3 separate regions of the Homo sapiens genome follow, and regions 2 and 3 are each linked to region 1. The links are contacts of gene promoters, found by promoter capture Hi-C in blood cells and fetal thymus (Javierre and others, 2016). All regions are on one chromosome and are shown on one strand. Each heading gives the region's core, a stretch centred on a gene start or on the middle of the fragment in contact. The rest is flanking DNA. Distances are from core to core; before and after follow the strand shown. Region 1 holds the start of FAM178B (family with sequence similarity 178 member B). Region 2 overlaps KANSL3 (KAT8 regulatory NSL complex subunit 3). Region 3 has its middle 40 kb from the start of ARID5A.

Region 1 (2,700 bases), core at 34-2,533:
GAACATGGACCCAAAGTCTCTGAGGGGGAAAATGAGGTCGGTTAGATACAGTGGTCATAGCCTCCTTTAAAGGGGAATGAACTTGCCAGATTGATGTAGAGAACAAACCGCCCACTGGTGCATAAACTGCATCAGGCTCCTAGTTAGAACATCCTGCAGCGAAGAGGATGAACAGCAGAAGGGAAAATCCCCAAATTCACACAAGTGCAGAAACCCATGATTAGAGTGTCCTTGGAATGACCTATGCTCATTTTAATGCTAAAAAACACACCCCTGGGTGAGGAATTAAAATGCTAATGAGACATGTGATGTGGTGTACTAGCACGCACATGCACATCTGGGAGACCCCGTAACATGCTTAACAGTAATGCCCATTCCCGCTCCTTTATGAATAATTATGTAAATCTCCCATAAAGGGAAGCTCATCACTGCCAAACAGACACAGCTATCTCACACGTGTGTGTGTGTGTGTGTGTGTGTTAGAGATGGGGGCTTGCTCTTTCGCCAGGCTGGAGTACAGTGCCACGATCTCGGCTCACTGCAACCTCTGCCTACGCCTCCCAGGCTCAAGTGATCCTCTCACCTCAGCCTCTGAAGTAGTTGGGGCTACAGGCACTGCACCACTATGCCCGGCTTTTTTTTTTTTTTTTTTTTTTTTTTTTTTTTTTTTTTTTTTTTTTTTTTGAGACGGCGTCTTGCTCTGCTGCCCAGGCTGGAGTGCGGTGGCGCGATCTCGGCTCATTGCAACCTCCACCTCCCTGGTTCAAGCAATTCCCCTGCCTCAGCCTCCCGCGCAACTGGGATTACAGGCGCACGCCAGCCACCAAGCCCGGTTAATGTTTTTTAATTTTTAGTAGAGACAGGGCTTCACCATGTTGGCCAGACTGGTCTGGAACTCCTGACCTCAGGCAATTCGCCCGCCTCGGCCTCCCAAAGTGCTGGGATTACAGGCGTGAGCCACCGCGCCCTGCCCACGCCAGGCTAATTTTTGTATTTTTAGTAGAGACGGGGTTTCGCCATGTCGCCCAGGCAGGTCTCTCACTCCTGGGCTCAAGCAATCGTCCCGTCTCAGCCTCCCAAAGTGCTGGGATTATAGGCATGAGACACCGCGCCAGGCCACTGTCTCACTGTCTTGGTAAATGCAAGCTACTACAAGTGCGCGTGACCCAGGACTGCCTGGGGGCAGGAGCTTCCGCCAGCCAATTCCCGCGCACGTGGATGCGCACGTGGAGGGCGAGCAGGAAGAGGGCGCGCACGTGGAGGGCTAACAGGAAGAGGGTGCGCACTTGGCCGGCGAGCTCCCCAGCTGGCGGCGGCGGCGGCTGTGAGCTGGCCGCTTGGTTTGGAGTCGGAACTCAATCCCCAGAACTGGATCTTTAGGTTCCACGTTGGCGGCCCTGGATCTAGGGACGCAACTCTTGGGGTCCTCCCACTGCGCCGCCTGGGGAGCCTGCTCCTGCTTCCTTTCCCGGCTAGCTGGCCCCGTCCTCTGAGGCCGTGCGAATTCCCGCCACCCTCCCTCACCCCGGAGCCCTGCCCTTCCCGCCCTATGTGGCCAAGGCTTCCAGGTGCGGGCCTCGCTCCACAACTCAGGAGGCAGGATCAGCGGCTCCATTTTACAGGTAAGGAAACTGAGGCCGAGGAACCGCAGGGGCGCGTGGTTAGCGCTCAGAGAGCACTCGACTTCCCTGGGACTCCTGGCTGGTCCAGGCCTTGCAGGTCAGCCCCGGTGCGGCCGCCGGGCTACTCTGGCGCTTTTCAGGTTCCTGCGACCCCGCGTGGTTCGGGTTCCGACGTGAGCCGGGCCCTCCTCTCCACAGGCCACTGCGCGGCCGGCCTTGGTGGGGTGGAACCTTAGATTGGTTTGAGAACTGGTTTATGTTTTGGTTGATGTGGCATGTTTTGTTTTGATTTTTAATGTTCCCCAGGGTGCAAAGGGTAGCTGGTGTTTTCTTTCCAGAAAGGCTTTCTATTCCCAGCCCCTGCCCGGTTTGATGGATGTGGAGTTTATGATGCTGGAGACCGTTTTCTTTGTGGGTAGAACGCATCTCCTTTCATCTTTCAAATTGTGAGCTCAGTCCTTGCTGACAGGAGCCGCTGCTCTCGCCAGCATTCCCAAGCTATTAAATATTTGTTTAAAAGGATGGATATAAAACATGATGTTAGGAATAAGGCGTCTTGAAAAAGCAGTATTCGCAGAAACAGCACCATTGTAATATTCTGAATTCATCTTGGCTCTTTTGACATCAGGGCCCAAAGCACTTGGGATTCCGTAATTATTTGGCCTCATGCTACACTTTAAGACAGATTATTTTATTTTTCTTGTAGTCAGGAAAGTAAAAGAACAAAAAAACTGAGATGACATGTTGAAATCTCACTGCGAGGACGCGAGGGAGGATGAGGGAAGCGGGGAGGGCGGCTGAACGCTAAAGGCTGGGGCTGGGGTTTGCAGGATTCGGGGAGACAAGAGCCCAGGCAGAGGGATGTGCTGGGCAGAGGGGGCGCCATCCATGGGCTGCATTGTAGAGTGAGCATGGCCAAGTCAAGGAGCTGAACAAGACGACTTCAGTCCTGAACCTGGAAAGAATGTGAGATGGAGGAGAAACAGGTCCTGGCTGGCGGGTATTGGGCCCCAGGAGGGAAAGAGATAACAAAGTTAAGTTTGGAGACTAACGCTGTCTCCTGTTTGACTGGGGGGCC
Region 2 (2,700 bases), core at 84-2,583, 380 kb after region 1:
CCAAGGTTTTGGGTTTAGGTTAGGTTAAACAGAATTGAAAGATTTGAAACTTACCTCTGCTGGTGTGGGGGCTACTTCTTTCCTTCAGGTCATCCCTGTAGCCACCCATCTGCTGAACAATGGCAGTGGGGTAGGAGTTCTACAGTGTCTCGAGCATATGATTGGGGCAGTGAGAAGCAAAGTGCTGGAGGTGAGAATGCCCGTATTTCAGTACATTGTGGCATACCCAGCATTCTGGGGTTGTTCTGCACCTATCTTTGGCCTCCTGTCTTACTGTCTTCTTTCTCTTCCCATGAAGATTCACAGCCATTTCCCACACAAACCCATTATCTTGATTGGCTGGAACACAGGAGCTTTGGTGGCCTGTCATGTAAGTAATTTCTATCTTATTTGGAGGTTGTCCTGGGATGGAATACCACTAATCATAGCTACCATTGAGTCCTTTACTGTGTGTCAGGCTCTGCGCTAGATACTTTACCTATATAATTACATTTTAAACTGTAGAAGACAAATTTTATTAAAACAATTTTTAATTTATTTTGGAAAACTTTAAGCAGAAACAAAAGCAGGTGTAGTATAATAAACCCCCGGATCCTCACCCAGCTTTACCAGTGATCAACTCTTGGCTGGGCTTGTTTCATCTCACCCTGCTCATTTTCTTTCTCCCCTAGATTGTTTTGAAGAAAATCCCAAATATAATAGCATTTTCACATACACACACACACACACACACACACACACACACACATATGGGTATATATCTGTGGAAAAAAAAAAAAGATCCCTTTTTTTCTCTAAACATAAGTACCATACTGTTCTCCCACCTAAAAAACAACAGTAATTGTAGCTGGCAAATATTAATAGCTCTGGAATTTGATGCTGTGTTCATTTCAGTCTTTTTCCAAGACATCAAGGAATCTTTTCGTATTTTACATATATTTGTATGTCTGTCAGTTTGTGTAAGTGTCCCTCATGTCCAAACCCTTAATTTTGCTTCATGCAGTCCAATCAAGTGTGATAGCTATGAGAGGAAGAAGGTCCCCATAGTCCCTGCTCCCAGGGTGTTAGGCCTTAGCAGTTTGCTCCAAGAAATCTAGGCTGTCTGGTAGCTATCCATTAAGTTCAATAGAGAGAATTTTTTTTCACTTAAGGGTTAATGGCAACATTGTGTTCTCTTGACTATATTTACTATTTGTGGAGAAAAATGGAGCAGGAGGGCTCTAGTTGAGGGGGTTGACAGGGTAGGAATACTGAACCTTCTATCCTATGGTTCAGCCACCTGCTGGGGTCCTCTTAGGGCCCCAGTTCTCTAGGTAGTGGCTGCTTATGGAATGACATACCTTGTGTCTTGTGCTCTTACTGCTGCCATTGTGGCAGAAGATGCACCCGGATATTAGGACAGGAGAGGAAGAGGTGAGACTGTCTGGTGGGTCTGGACCACTCCTGGATTCTGGGTAGGCTGAGGTGCCATGAACTCAGTTGACGTTTAGACAAACTGTTCTGTTATTTACAGGTGTCAGTAATGGAGTATGTCACTGCAGTTGTCTGCCTTGGGTTTCCTCTGCTTACTGTGGATGGCCCCAGAGGGGTAAGAATGTGGTAAAGCTGAGTGCTGGGTCATTGGCAGTGGGAGCGCGAGTGTGCATGCCTTGTCCAAGCTGATGCTGAGGCTGACTGCAGTTGCATGGCTGATCCTCCTTAGTGGAGTTTCTGGGTCAGTGCTTTGTGAATATGAAGAAGCCGATTCTAAAACCTATACCTGTTTTAGGATGTAGATGATCCCCTCTTGGATATGAAGACTCCAGTCCTCTTTGTCATTGGTCAGAATTCCCTTCAATGTCACCCTGAAGCCATGGAGGACTTCCGGGAGAAGATTCGAGCTGAGAACAGCTTGGTGGTGGTTGGGGGAGCTGATGACAATCTCAGGTGGGTGGATTCTCCCAGAGCTGCAAGAGAGCTGTGTTACAGTGTTAGAGATAAGCCTGGAAGCTGGCAATGTAACTACAGACCAGTCTGGTTCAGTTAAAAGACAGCATTAGCCGGGCGCGGTGGCTCACGCCTGTAATCCCAGGACTTTGGGAGGCTGAGGCAGGCGGATCACGAGGTCAGGAGATTGAGACCATCCTGGCTAACACGGTGAAACCCCGTCTCTACTAAAAATACAAAAAATTAGCCAGGCCTGGTGTCGGGCGCCTGTAGTCCCAGCTACTCGGGAGGCTGAGGCAGGAGAATGGTGTGAACCCAGAAGGCGGAGCTTGCAGTGAGCCGAGATCCCGCCACTGCACTCCAGCCTGGGTGACAGAGCAAGACTCTGTCTCAAAAAAAAAAAAAAATTAAAAAAAGACAGCATTAAAAAAACCTTTTTTAATATTTGAAATTTCAGATTTATAAAAAGTTATAACACTAGTACAAAACAATTCCTATATACCCTTCACCTGATTTTCTAAATGTTAAACATCTTACATAGCCAAAGTGTAATTCTCAAAATCAAGAAATTAACATCTACATGATACTGTAATTTACAGACTCATGTTTCATCAGTTGTTTCCCTAATGTCATTTTTCTGGTCCAGCATCCAGCCCAGGATCACACTTGGATTTAGTTGCCATGTCTCCTCAGTCTCCTTTAATTTGATAGAGTTCCTCCATCTTTGTCTTTCACGACCTTGAGCTTTTTTTTTTTTTTTTTTTTTTTTTTTTT
Region 3 (2,700 bases), core at 154-2,653, 410 kb after region 1:
ATTCTGAGTCCTGCTTGCATCTTGGCATTGATTCCACCCACCCCCTCCTCCCCCAAGTAGGGAGAACAATAACAATGCTTACATTCAAGCTTTATCCTAGGCCATCATTACTGGTATTCTATAGTTCAGGGAAAAACTGAGGCACAGAGAGGTTAAGTAACTTGCCCAAATCACACAGCTGGTAAGTGGCAGAACCATAGCCGAATTCTGGCAGTCCACTGCAAAGCCCACTCTCAAGCAATCTCTAATCGCAATGACTTGGCTCTCAGGGTTGTGGTGGGTAAGCCTGCTGTGCTCGGAAACTGAATAGTAGCTCATGGCCTATCCATGATAGGTAAAGGGTTGATTGGTTGCAAACCTCTTATCTAAATGGCCTGTAAAAGCACACACTGTGCTTGCTCACAGTGCCCAGAGACCACGTGGGAGGTGCCAAATATGGGTGGTAACAGGCAAGGAAGAGGGAGTATCTGTACCAAATCTGGTTTTGAGGAAGAATTGTATGTCATGTTGAATTGACAGTCTGGCTAATTGGATGGGTAGATGGCTCCTACATGGGTGTCGTAGGCTCTGGCAATGCTGGGCATCCCATTTTCCCATAACTTGTCAGGCTTAAAGTGATTACTGAGGAAGGTGGAAACCAGGCTTGACCACTTGGTTCTTGGTCCATGTGTTCAGACTTCCCTAGAGAGCACCTGTCCTGGAGGATCTAAGCCAGGGCTTCTCATGGTGAGCCCTCTCCGAGAGTGGAGAAGCAGACCAAGGCAGTGGGGAGTGGGACTCTTCTTATGTGGATCATGCCCAGCACCAAATGAGATTGATTCCAGATTAGGTCAGCAGTCATTCTAGACCAGATGGTCCCTATGGAAAAAAAGTGGAGAGTTAGAACAGGGAAGGGTGAGCAGCAAAAGATGCAAAGGAGAGGGAAAACTGGAACAAGGGACAATAATTTCAAATCTGTAGGTTTGTCTTTTTCCCTCTCTTCCTAAGCAGTTTAGTCCTAAAGCCACTAAATAATGCACAGCCAAAAGGGAAAATATTCGTGCATGTGGCAGGGGGAGAAGCCAGCACTAACTTTTGCTAGAAGTGTTCATTGGAGCCCCAGAAAATCCCCTGGGTTCCAGACCTAGTCCTCTGCCACGATCGTGTGGTAATAACCCCAATTTTCCCTTGATAATTGGGGTCAGTCACTTCAGCCCGCAAAGTCACTGCTCTTTTTTGATTTAATGTCATGAGGCACCCAAAAATGTCTAAATGGAGGCAGTCTCAGCTTCCAGTTTGATGGAGCCATTGTTGGGTCCCTGGTGGAAATAGTCCTCCCTTGGGAACCAAGACCTTCCAAGCAAGCAGAGCTCAAAATTGTGGAGATGAGAAGTGACTGGTCATTATGTGTGCTAGTGGGAAGACCTGCTTTCTTTTCTGTTCTTGCTTCCTGGGCCCATGAAGAGACAGCACTATGAATAGGTCTTTGATTTGAAGGATATATTGCATCCTATAAGATAAAACCCTATTCTTTCAGGGTGTTGACTCCCATCTGGTGCCCTAGGTAATTATCTAGTAGGCCATCCCACTGTTCAGACTGACCTCTTCACGATGGGATCTCTGGTAAGACCAATGAGTTTCATGAACCACAAGCCCATTGTTGCAAGCCTCTGTAATGCATGCCTTCCAGTGAGTATCCACATCAGATATTTGGGACCCAAATATCTGTTCCCCTTTGTGCCCAGTTTGAGAAGTTTATCTATATAATTTCCCCAGATCTCATCACCAATGTTCCAACCCTTGTCCCTCCATAACCATCCAGTCATTAATTAGAAATCTTCCTTTAGTCAGCAGATCTGTACTTCTGGTCATCTCTCAGTTCAAACAAAGTGGATAACCAAACAGCTCCAAGTTCTGCTGAATAGGAAGTCTTCTGTTTATCACTGTCCTTCAGAGACACCCAAGTGAGATTGTAATATTGCCATCCACTTTCTGTTGGTTCCAACATATAGAGAACTGCCTGCAAATCAAGCCCAGATTATTTCCTTCTCAGCTACCTAGTCATAAGGAACTCCCAGCAGGCATAGATGAGGATTGAGGGGGAGGAGGCAATGCAGCCAGAGTCAGTGTCGAAGGAGTCTGACTTACTTCTGTCCTCTGGACCTGCTTGAGTCCAGCCTTTTCTATTTTTGCTGCACAGGTCTAATCTGTGGCTAGGTGTGTCAATAACTATAAATTCATGATGGAAAGCTCAGGTCACAAGGTTACTTGATATCTCATGGTTCAGTGTTTATTCTTTACTAAGGGCCAGTAGAAAAGCAGAATCTTTTTCAAACAGATATTAGTTACTTGGAGAAGAGGGCATGGATTTGCCTCCACACTCCAGAGTTCTGTACTGTGATTGTCCTATTAATGCTTGTCACAGGCTCCACAGACCAGCCTGTTTGTCACAGGCACTTTTACTAGCATTGGATCTGTGGGGTCATAAGGCTTGTTCTTCAGCCTGGGCTTGATGCAGAGCAAGAGATTGCTTTAGTCTCTGCTCAAAATTGATTACTCAGTAAATGGGTTGAAATAACACACTCAAGTTTGGTATGCATTGCCTCCAAATGCCAAGAAGGATCCACCAAGGATTTTCTTTATTTTTTAGTTGTAGGTGATGCAAAGTACAGCAACTTGTCTTTTGCCTTGGAGAGGCAATCTTAACAAGCTCGTCACACT

Evidence for each region. The method cuts DNA at HindIII sites, captures the fragments that hold promoters and counts their contacts. A CHiCAGO score of 5 or more calls a contact.
Region 2: a fragment that was not itself captured here is called in contact with the fragment with the promoter of FAM178B in region 1 in 1 of 17 cell types (naive CD8 T cells); the score reaches 5.2 in naive CD8 T cells.
Region 3: a contact is called between a fragment that was not itself captured here and the fragment with the promoter of FAM178B in region 1, in 1 of 17 cell types (erythroblasts). The highest score is 5.3, in erythroblasts.

The regions. Positions count from the first base shown.
Region 1 is chr2:96,985,163-96,987,862 of GRCh38, reverse strand. It overlaps FAM178B (family with sequence similarity 178 member B), which reads left to right and starts at 1,283. Exons shown (of 17, transcript NM_001122646.3): 1 at 1,283-1,622. The coding sequence starts at 1,550. RefSeq lists enhancers at 1,205-1,725, 1,726-2,246. The HindIII fragment of the contact is 31,542 bases long and covers 1-2,700 here.
Region 2 is chr2:96,609,952-96,612,651 of GRCh38, reverse strand. It overlaps KANSL3 (KAT8 regulatory NSL complex subunit 3), which reads left to right. Exons shown (of 21, transcript NM_001115016.3): 8 at 89-190; 9 at 299-370; 10 at 1,514-1,588; 11 at 1,769-1,926. Among named protein-coding and RNA genes, the nearest start is that of KANSL3, 27 kb to the left of the region's middle. The HindIII fragment of the contact is 9,937 bases long and covers 1-2,700 here.
Region 3 is chr2:96,575,393-96,578,092 of GRCh38, reverse strand. No RefSeq gene overlaps it. Among named protein-coding and RNA genes, the nearest start is that of ARID5A, 40 kb to the right of the region's middle. The HindIII fragment of the contact is 2,624 bases long and covers 92-2,700 here.